Regions from separate parts of the Homo sapiens genome. Here region 2 is linked to region 1. Evidence: promoter capture Hi-C in 16 types of primary human blood cells and fetal thymus (Javierre and others, 2016). All regions are on one chromosome and are shown on one strand. Each heading gives the region's core, a stretch centred on a gene start or on the middle of the fragment in contact. The rest is flanking DNA. Distances are from core to core; before and after follow the strand shown.

Region 1 (5,514 bases), core at 2,771-5,270:
CTGAGAATGCAACATCCTGAGATAAGGAGGAAGCTTCCAGAACAACCTGGGCTGCGTCCTCATTTTTCCTAAAACAGGATGTTCTGCAACACTTGTACTCAGCAATCTCAGTTACACCCAGGGTATAAAACCCAAAGTGTTTTTGGAGTCCCTCATCTGTGCTGCAACATGGGGTATGTGCAGATGAGGCTCCATCTGCCCTAAGCAGCTTTCCTGAGCCATGGGATCAGCTAACCATGGATCCTCCATTTCTGTGTATCTTTGCTGCCTATTTGTAAAAAATTTGCTTTGCCTGACTTACTGTTTGAGTGTTCTGCCTCACCAGATTAGAACTAAGAACTATTGCAAGAACCACTCAAGAGTTTGGCTGTTCAAAGTTTATAAAATAATATCACAAAGCAGCATAGTATTGTCATATTACTGACAGAATTCAGAGGTGGCAAACAAGTTGACAGACATTTTTGCAGGCTAGGATTTCAACTGTATCTTAAATAGATTTGAGAAAGCAGCATGAGGAAAGGATTTTAGGCAGGGAACAGGAGCAAAAGTATGTCTAAATTAGTCTGTGATACTTAAAACAGTTCAGTGAAAGACTAGAAGAATGGTACTTGGCAGTCAAGATCTGTGGTAGGCAAAATTCTAAGATGATACCCAATGGTCCTTGCCCGCATAAAATCTCCCCTACGTATATTAAAACATCATGTTGTACACTAAATATATACAATTTTGTCCATTTCACCTTAATAGAGTAGAAAAGGGGGAAATTTCCTAACTTGACTATGTGGGTAAAACATGAATACGATATCACTCCTGTGATCATAGGTTTGGATGTGGTTAGGGCCGCCAAAACTCATGTTGAAATTTGGTACCCAATGTGGCAGTGTTGGGAGATGGGGCCTAGTGGAAGGTTTCTGGGTCATGGGGGTGGATCTGTCATGAACAGATTAATGCCCTCACGGTGGTGGGGGGGGAGGTGAGTTCTTGCTCTCTCAGGAATGAATTAGTTCTCGAGTGTGGGTTGTTAAAAGAGTTTGGCTTTCTTGATTTGTCTCTCTTGCTGCTTCTCTCAACATGTGATCTCTATGCACACCCACTCCCCTTCTGCTTTCCTCCCTAAGTGGAAGCAGCGTGAGGCCCTTACCAGATGCGGCTGCCCAATCTTGGACTTTTCAGCCACCAGAATCATAAGCCAATTAAACCTCTTTTCTTTATGAATTGCCCAGCTTTAGGTATTCTGTTATAACAACACAAAATGGACTAAGATAATGTTATATGGCAAACGAAATTTTTGCAGATGGCATTAAAGTTACTAATCAGTTGAATAAAAAGGGATATTATTCAGATAGACCTTATCAACTCACATGAGCCCTTTAAGTCTAGGCTTAGAGATAGAGGAATTCAAGAGATTTCAGCAGTGGAAATATTCTGCTTGCCTTCAAGGAATAACTGCCATTGTGAGAGCCACATGGCAGAAAACTGTGGGTAGCCTCAATGTTAATGGCCACAATCAGCAGCCAGTAAGAAAATGGAGCCCTCAGTCCTACATTGGCAATAAATTGAATTCTGCCAAGGACTTGAAGAATGAGCTTGACTGAGGAACCCCAAGCCTCAGATGAGATTGCAGCCTTGATATGAGCCTTGTGACACTGAGCAGAGAACTCAGTCACACCACAGCAGAAGACTTTTGCCCCAAGGAAACTGTCAGATAATGTGTTAAGCTAAGTTTGTGGCAATTGTTACACAGCATTAGAAAACTAATACAGGATCCCAAAAGATAAGAGTTATCATCTACAGAAAATAGGTGGTATAATAAAGCTATAGAAGCTATAATTCCACCCCTTTAGAGGTTAACTTGTGAAGGTCAAAGAAATTGCTGATAGCAAAATATGTGATGCTGGGGCCTTTCTCAAATTCCTCACTAACATTCATTCATTCTCAGGCTCTCAGATCTAGAGTCAGGTGGATCTGAGTCCAAACCTGAGCTCTACCACTTAGCAATATGATCTTGGCCAACTTACTTAACTAGCCAGAGCTTGGTAAGTTGTGACGATTAATAGGAACTATGCATGTACAGGACCCAGTACGTATTAAACACTCAAGAAATGTTAGATGATGATGATGTCAGCTTTATACACAAGAAATAGGGTTGACCTCTATGCCCCAAAAATAAGATGCTGAGACAAAAGGGATTCCATCATTTGCCACTTCTCTATTTTAAAATTCTGAAACACTCCCTATTGCCTATGTCTAAACTCCAAGAAACTCTTAAAACATGCCACTGACTTCACCTTTTCGTTTCTTGAGACGGATTCTCGCTCTGTCACTTAGGCTGGAGTGCAGTGGTGTGATCTCGGCTCACTGCAATCCCCGCCTCCCGTGTTCAAGCAATTCTCTGCCTCAGCCTCCCAAGTAGCTGGAATTACAGGTGCCCGCCACCATGCCCGGCTGATTTTTGTATTTTTAGTAGAGGCGGGGTTTCACCATCTTGGCCAGGCCAGTCTTGAACTCCTGACCTCAGTGATCCATCCACCTCGGCCTCCCAAAGTGCTGGGATTACAGGCGTGAGCCACCGCGCCCGGCCAACTTCACCTTTTCACTTATTATTCTGCCTGAACCAGCACCTGAGCTCCAAACCTTTTTTTCACCTGGTTGGTTGCTCTCTCCTGTACATATGCATTCATACACCCCCATTATCCTGTATTTTAATTGTTAACCTGCCAATAATATCTCACTATATTGCACACTGCCCAATGGTTACATTTCCATACCCAGAGACTATCAGAGTACCAGGCAAAAAGCAAATAAGCCATATATTTTTAATGAAATGAATGTTCAGTCTTCAGGCCTTTAAGAAAAGCTGTTCCTGGAATGAAGAAAAAAAAAACACCAATGCTGTGGTTGTTTCTACATTTCTATAGCGTGGTGTTTAAACACTTAGCAACTGCTCTCCTGCATACACTTGTGTAGAGAAGTGGTTAAACAATATTCTCATCCTTCTTTTCCCAAGGAGAAAACCAAAAGCATACCAACCTTAAATAACACACACAGAGGGCAATCTTGAAAGACCTAAAATGACATATCTAGCAAGAAGCTGGCAGCCAAGCTTGACGCCTGCCTGCCTGCCTGTTGGTTCACTAGAAGAAAGTGGTTCTCAAACTTTAATATGTATACCAGTCACCTGAGGCTATTGTTAAAATGTAGTCTGATTCAGCAGGTTGCGGGGGAGAGGGAGAAGAGCCGAGAATGTGCAGGTCTAAAAAGCTCCCAGGTGATGCCAATGTTTCTGGTCTCCAGACCTAGACCTCTAGCTTAGACCTGTGCTGACCAGTACGTTAGCCACATGCGGGTATTAAGCCCCTGAAATATGACTAGATAAGCTGTCAGTGTAACATGCCGATTTCCAAGACTTAGTTAAAAAAAAAAAAACTAAACTATCTCAATGATTTGTACAGACCACATTGAATTAATATTTTGTGTACTTTGAGTTAAATAAAATGTACTAGTAGGGTTACTTCCCTCTATATTTTACATTCCACACGTGGCTCGCATTATAGTGCTACTGGACAGCGGTGCCCTAAACTAACAACCGTCTCCATTCTGAAGCTTCCACTATTGTGAGACTTTAAGAATAAAAGCAACACCTCTCTTCCCATAGGTGGTTCGAAAGCACACCTTTTGTTCCCCAACTATCTACCAGAAATAAAACGAAAAAACAAAGATTTAAAAAACAATAAAATTGAGTCCTTTCACTTCTGCTTAAGCGCCACCTAAGCCACTGCTTTTGTCTCCCTCCGGTTCCCACGCTCCGAGATCGTATCACCCACAGAAAAACAATAACTAAAAAGCGGTCTCCATCCCTGAAGCCAAGCTGGGAGAGTAGCCGAAGGTCGCGCTTCCTGGCCGCCAAAACCGAGGTGGAGGAAACTTGGTAGTCAGCGAGCTACGCCCTCTCGGCTCCTCCTCCTGCTCCTCCTCCAGGGCCGACCTCTTCAAGATGGCGGGCGCCGGAGACTAGCTTCCGCTTCCGGTGTGAGCGGCCCGGCCGGGGGGGCAAGATGGCGGCGGCAGTAGGGGTTCGTGGCCGGTACGAGCTGCCGCCTTGCTCCGGCCCAGGCTGGCTCCTCAGCCTTTCCGCCTTGCTGAGTGTGGCGGCACGAGGGGCCTTCGCCACCACGCACTGGGTCGTCACGGAGGACGGGAAAATCCAGCAGCAGGTAGCGGCCGGGGCGTCCCTCTTCTCCCGTGCCCGCCCTCGCCCCGGGGGGATTACCCTGCTTGGCCCCTGGCTGTTGGGCTCCGCGCGGCCCCGCCCCCAGCCTACCCTCACAGGGAGGTGGCACCGCGACCTCGGACTCCCTGCATTCGGACCAGGCAGGCACTTCCCGCTCCCCACTTGTCTCCTGGTCCTCGTTTGGCCCCCTAGAAGTTCTCACCCTTCCACCTCGCGGGCCGCGCGCCGCGTGGGGAAGAGTCGCCCAGCTGCGGGAGACGGGCCCTACGGACCTTTTTTTAGCTCGGGGTTTAGAAATCACAGATTTCAGGATTCCTGCCTTTGGTGCCTCTCGGGTTCACGCGTCACCGGCCCTCCCCGAGGAAATAGAAAGCAGGTGGCAGCTCCAGGGTGTGCGCGAGTCCCATGGTATGACAGCTTCTGGACCCCTAGCCTGTGGACCATTCGTGCTGCTCCCCTAGTCTCGTCTACCACATGGTGGATTTCGTTTCTGGTTGTGTTGGTTTCAGCTTGTACCGTTACTCAGGTCAGCAGTGGCTCATTAGAAACAACATAGAAACACTCCCCTTCAGAAGGAATGCTTGAAGATGCCGCTGGTGGCGTTGCCTGCATCTTTTCAGCTGTTACTGCCCTCGTTTCCCAGTGCACTTTGCTTTGTTTCTTTACCTAGTTCTTGTGACCCAGCCTCGCATGGAGGATATGCGATTTCCTGGATTCTTGTATGCCTGAACTAATTCCTCAGAGGCGAGACTGCTTTTCTTATATAACTTTATGATTGCCTGCGTTTTGTAAATGCTGCTGATGCCTAACGAGTGCGTGTGTGTGTTCCGCTACAGAATATTGGTAAACTTACTGACTTCGAACACTTGAGGACAATCTTGAAGTGTCTAGCAAACATTTAGAAAGTGAATTGTGTGCCCCATGCAATTTAGCCCACTGATCTAAAACGTTTTAACTAGTGTGGTGGGAAATTACTGGTCCTTTGGATTGTGTGTAATGAATCATGATAGGAACACATTCCAACGTTTAAGGTGAGGTTTAGATTTAGATTTGCCGTGTAATGTAATTGCAAATTCTATCTCAAGTAAGTTAAGTATAACTAAAAATCCGCCTAGGTATTCATGAGTGGTTTTCAGCATATCTAAGAAAAGACCGTGTTCCTATTGGGTAACGTTTTCTATATGACATACATAAAGAACAGTTTCCTTTTCATTGCCATACTATCTGAGACTTTAAATATATGTGTATGTGTTTCAGAAACCCAAGAAAACACTGTAAGACCA
Region 2 (5,596 bases), core at 1,988-4,487, 2.0 Mb after region 1:
TGACTGTGCACTGGGTTGTGTTCTCTTGCACAGCCTGCTGCCCTGTAGTGGTCCAGGGACAGGCTCTCTAGTTTATTTTTCATTAAAAATGACTTTTATAGAATGTTTTGATTTCAAAAGCAATATCTGGTCTCTGGAGAAAAACTAGAAAATGTAGACAAGCAAAGCAAAGAGAAGAAAATAAAAATACATCCACTATCCTAATCCTGAGCAATAACTACTCTTTTTTCTTTTTTGGAGTTGAAGTCTCATTCTGCCGCTGATCTAGGCTCACTGCAACCTCTGCCTCCCGGGTTCAAGCGATTCTTCTGCCTCAGCCTCCCAAGTAGCTAGGACTACAGGTGCACACCATCATACCCTGCTAATTTTTTGTATTTTAGTAGAGACAGGGTTTCACCATGTTGCCCAGGCTGGTCTCAAACTCCTGACCTCAGGCAATCCACCTTCCTTGGCCTCCCAAAGTGCTAGGATTTCAGGTGTGAGCCACTGCACCCAGCCAGTAACTGCTCTTTATACTTGTTCAGTGTCCATCCGGCTTTTTCCTAGGAGTGCAATATATTTATAGCATCATTTAATAAAATTAAATTTTATACCACATACCTATATAACCTTTTAAAAACTCAATTGGCATTATATCATTAATATCTTTTCATGTCAATACTCTACAATCTGGGTTTTAATGATTATGTAATATTCCATTGTATGGGCATGCAAGTACTTTAATTTACCAATCCCTTACTATTGGACATTTAGGCTGTTTTCCAATTTTCACTACTCTAAACAACTGTGACGAACATCCTTTTGCATAATTACTTATCCACATTCTCATTTTCTTACCTGGGTTACATTTCCAAAGGTAGGATTACCTCATCAAAGGATATGCACATTTTTAAGGCTTTGATGCACATTGCTTCACTAACCTCAGGAAAAGTAGTGATAAATTATACCCCAGGGATGGCTATTGTCCCCAGGGACAATGCTGATCTTTATATGCAGGGTCTAGAGCAAAGCATTGCATATAATAAGAGCTGATTAAATATGCATAGATTGTAATTTGAGCATAATAAATCCAGACTCTTTCAAGCACACTATCTGCAGTTCTTCTGTCTGCTGTTAGCCCTCCAAGAGACAGAGTAAAGAATTGTTCATAAAAATGAGAGAAAGGTAAGGGATGATGAAAAGAAAGTGGAACAATATCTCAGGGGAGTGTGCCATTTAATAATACCCTAGGTCATTACACAGCACTTTCACTGAAATATAGGTGTTAATGGCCCACTTATGAACATTTCTACTCCAACATAAATTAGAGTCTAAATTATTTAAACCATCCCAATGTAACCATACCAGGCAAAAGTCGGGTACATAGAAGTACCATGGCTTAGAGGTAAAAGACCATGGAGAAAATAATTATCATAATATCCAACCTCCCAATAAACATGATGGAATTGCCACTTGGGAATCCACACCCTCCCTTCAATATCCAACGTAACCAGCTTAGGGAAAGCACTTCAAAGAAGTGTGGGTGAAGATAAAGGAACACTTAGTTACAATCTGAGCTCACCCTGCAAGCTTTGATTTCTGACTATTCTTAGGACTTGTTTCTTTCAAATCCTCAGACTAGAGGGCTTGGTTCATTTTGACAGAGAAAGATAATCATTGAAAAACAGAAGGAGGTTTGGTTTAGCCTTACAATGGTTTCTATGTTAAGCCTCACAAATGAAAGTCATATTAAACTGGATTTATTCATCCCTGACATCAAAGAAAGGAGAATGAAGGAGAAAAAAACGTATTAAAACTTGCAAAAAATAATCTTTCTATAAAACCTGACATTTATGAACATAACTCAAAGAAATACCTAAAAATTAATCTGTGGATTACACCAATTTAAAATGTATGGGAAGAATACAAGTAGGAAGAGGGGGAAAACAAACAAAGGGAAATATATTGACATTCTGAAGTCTCTTTTCATTTAACAACAAATATTTTCAAAGAACACAAGGCTTTCTCAGTCATTAACAATTCATTTTTTTATAAGCTACATTCAATTTTAATCATCTACAATATATGAAAAATCCCCCTCAGGATTACCTGCACAAAATTGCAAAAGAAAAAAAAATTGTAAGATTATATGACAGTTTCAAAGCTGAATTACAAATGTATGCACCCAGCAGCAGATAAAAATGAAGGAGAATACGGGAATGATTAAGTTTTCAATTTCCCTACAATGACTTGATGTTAATTTCAATTCACTTACAAGCCTCTTTGTAAAGGATTAATAAAGAAAAGAAATAATCTGATGGTTTGACAACATGAAGGTACTGGGAAATTATTTCCCTGAGAGATTGTCATTTAGAAGCTGGATAAGTTTCTGATTCACTTGCGGCCTCAGTTTCTCATCTTTAAACTGGGAATTGGGAAATGACAATGATGATTCCCCAGTAGGATTCATGTGAGGATTTCATGAGATGATGGAATTCAAATGTTGTGCAGATGGCAGGGACTCACTTAAAAATAGCCATTTTTATTGACATGGGCATGGCAAAAATTTAAAGTGCCTGTGATAAAGATCATCAGTGAATCTCATACAATAGACTTTTCTAAACTTTGCCCTTCCTTCTCTTTAATTCTTTGATATCTACAGTATAACCAGTAATATGTTCTGCTTTGAGTGTCTTAAGATGGAAAACATCAACAAGCAACAATACTTTGCATTGAGTACTTACTACATGCCAGGTGCTTTATGTCATCTCAAACAGTCCTCACAACAAACCTATTGCGTAGGCACTACTCATCTTAGTTTGCCAATAACAAAATTGAGACCTAAATAAGTTAAGGAGTTTTCCAAATGGCTGGAGGCAGCACAGAGGTTAAAAGCATGAGCTCTGGAGCCAAGCTGCCTCAGTTTCCCTATTGAGGGAAATTGGGATGGGTAGTATATTTGACAGTGTTCTCTAGAGAAATAGAACTAATAGGATGTGGGTGTGGGGGCGCTGAGGGGAAGCAGTGTGGGAGAGAGAGAGACTTTATGTTAGGGAATTGGTTCATGCAATGGTGGGGGCTGGAAAATGCAAACTTTGCAGTGGTGACTGGCAGTCTGGAAATTCCAGCAGAAGTTGATTGTTGCAGTTTTGAGTCCAAAGGCAGTCTGGAGGCAGAGTTCTGTCCTCCTGGCGGGACCTCAATCTTTTTTCTTAAGGCCTTCAACTGATTGGAGGAGACCTACTCACATTAAAGAGGGTAATGTACTTTACTCAAAGTCTACTGATTCAAATGTTAATCACCTAAAATCACCTAAAAAAATACCTTCCCAGCAACATCTGGACTGGTGCTTGACCTAGCAACTGGGTGCTACAACCTACCACATTGACACATAAAATTAACCACCACTGGGGGTAAGAACATTACCTACCTCGCATGGTTTGGAAGGATTAAATAATATAAATCATGCACAGTACTTGGTATGCCTGAGGCCCTCAGTGTCTTTATTTTCTTATGGACAGAGCCTGCTAAGGAGGAAGCAGTCCATAGGTGTTAGCTATTGTTATAAAGGGACACAGCCATATTAGAACCCAGGTCATTTGCCTCCAGAGCTGATTGTCAACTTTTAAACCTGTACTGTCCAATATGATAACAGTCAGAGAGATGTGACTACTTACCATGTGTACGTGGCTAGTGTGACTAAAATTTAAATCTCATTTCAAAACCAAAGCACAGTAATTTGTTTGTTTGTTTGAGATGGAGTCTCCCTCTGTCACCAGGCTGGAGTGCAGTGGCACGATCTCGGCTCACTGCTATCTCCGCCTCCCAGGTTCAAGCCCCCCTCCCCTGCTTCAGCCTCCTGAGTAGCGGTGACTACAGGCTCGCACCACCACGCCCGGCTAATTTTTTGGTAGAGATGGGGTTTCACCATGTTGACCAGGATGGTCTTGATCTCTTGACCTCATGATCCGCCTGCCTTGGTCTCCCAAAGAGCAGAGTGAATTTTTAAGCATTGAAATGGCCTGAGTACTAGATATATTTAGTTAAATAAAATATACTATCAAAATTAATTTCATCTTTTACTTTTTGCTTTTGTAAATGTGGCTACTAGAAAAATCTAAATAACACACATGGCTTGCATCATATATTTCTTGTACGGTGCTACTCTAAGCATGGCGCCTTCCCAGGGGTACACAGGCCTGGCGTGTGAACACAAGCCCTCCACAGGACAGGCTAAGCAGCGAAAACACTGCACCAGTGCATCTTAACGTCAGCGAGGCTACCCAACTTCTTAAAAAAAAAAATCTTAACAGTAGCACCACCCACAAAGGAAATAAGTAAACTGGACTTTATTAAAATTAGCTCTTTTGCCTATCAAAAGACACTACTAATAGGGTAAAACAGCAAACTACAGATTTGGAAAAGATATTTGCAATTCATATAGCCAAACAGTGGACTTATATTTAGGATATATAACAAATTCCTGTGAATCAATTTTTTAAAAAAGGAATAAAACTCAATAGAAAAATGTGTGAAATATTTGAACAGGCATTTTAGAAAACAAGGTGTCCAAATGGCCAATAAACACATTACATGCAAATTAAAACATAATGGCTGAAATGAAAATGATGGAAAAATATCAAATGCTGACAAAGATGAAACAACTGAAATTCTTACATATCGCTAGTATGGTATAAATTGGTATGACCATGTTGGAGGATTTTTTTTTCCTGCCAAGTAAAAGCATGCTTCCTTCCACTAACACCCCCCTCGGTGCAGGAAAATTAATCTCTAACTTAAAAAGCCAGCGTTTCAAAATGTATAAAATAATGAGGCAGAGAGAAGGCCTCGGGCCTTGCCACACTGGAAGGTATCATCAGCAGTTAATTGAGCCACAGGGAGGCTGAGAGCAGGATTGCAAATATGGTAAGCTTCACAAATGACAAAATATAGTGCCTGACCTTTTTAAAGCAGATCTCGTGGGCTCCTCACAAACTGCAGGGCATTCTTTGAGGTCGGGAACCAGAGGGGCCCTGCAAGGGGCTTTGGTGAGGCAGGCGAGAGTCTGCTAGGAGAGTTGCTTTCACATTAAGCCATAAAACAATTTTCTTTGGAAAAAAATGTGTTTGTAACAAATGCCCCGCAGAATTATACTACATCACTGAAAACTGAACATTTGCAAAGCTTTGCTCAGGACTTTGTTATCATGCTCTGCCCTAAATCTAAGAGTAAAGAGTTATTCTTGTCAGGCATCTGCTTTTGAAGTTCCTGGCTAAGTCAAATAGTGCATGAGGCTCCACAGCAGCTCTTAATCAGGAAAACGGAGAGATGATTGTCGTTAACATAAAACACGGAACCCTGGGACCAGCTTTCTGTCTGCCCCAAAAACCAGCTGCTTCCAAGCCCCTCTAATTCCTGGTTCTCTGGGAAGGTGCTAGTCCAGTGACTTTTATCCAGGGGTCCACGGACCCGTAACATGTTTGTGGAGGGAATTCAGGGGTCTGTGAACTCAAATGAGGAAAAATATATCTATGTTTGCTAACTTCCAACCGAAATGTAGCACTTTGGTTTGGAAAGCAGGCAACAAACCATAGTAATGTTATCAGTCCTCATTGTC

What was found. The method cuts DNA at HindIII sites, captures the fragments that hold promoters and counts their contacts. A CHiCAGO score of 5 or more calls a contact.
Region 2: a fragment that was not itself captured here is called in contact with the fragment with the promoter of TTC17 in region 1 in 2 of 17 cell types (naive CD4 T cells and fetal thymus); the score reaches 7.9 in naive CD4 T cells.

The regions. Positions count from the first base shown.
Region 1 is chr11:43,354,900-43,360,413 of GRCh38, forward strand. It overlaps TTC17 (tetratricopeptide repeat domain 17), which reads left to right and starts at 4,021. Exons shown (of 24, transcript NM_018259.6): 1 at 4,021-4,214. The coding sequence starts at 4,056. RefSeq lists an enhancer at 3,880-4,149 and a silencer at 4,280-4,359. The HindIII fragment of the contact is 2,829 bases long and covers 3,602-5,514 here.
Region 2 is chr11:45,342,623-45,348,218 of GRCh38, forward strand. No RefSeq gene overlaps it. Among named protein-coding and RNA genes, the nearest start is that of LINC02696, 10 kb to the right of the region's middle. RefSeq lists an enhancer at 4,651-5,189. The HindIII fragment of the contact is 3,341 bases long and covers 1,568-4,908 here.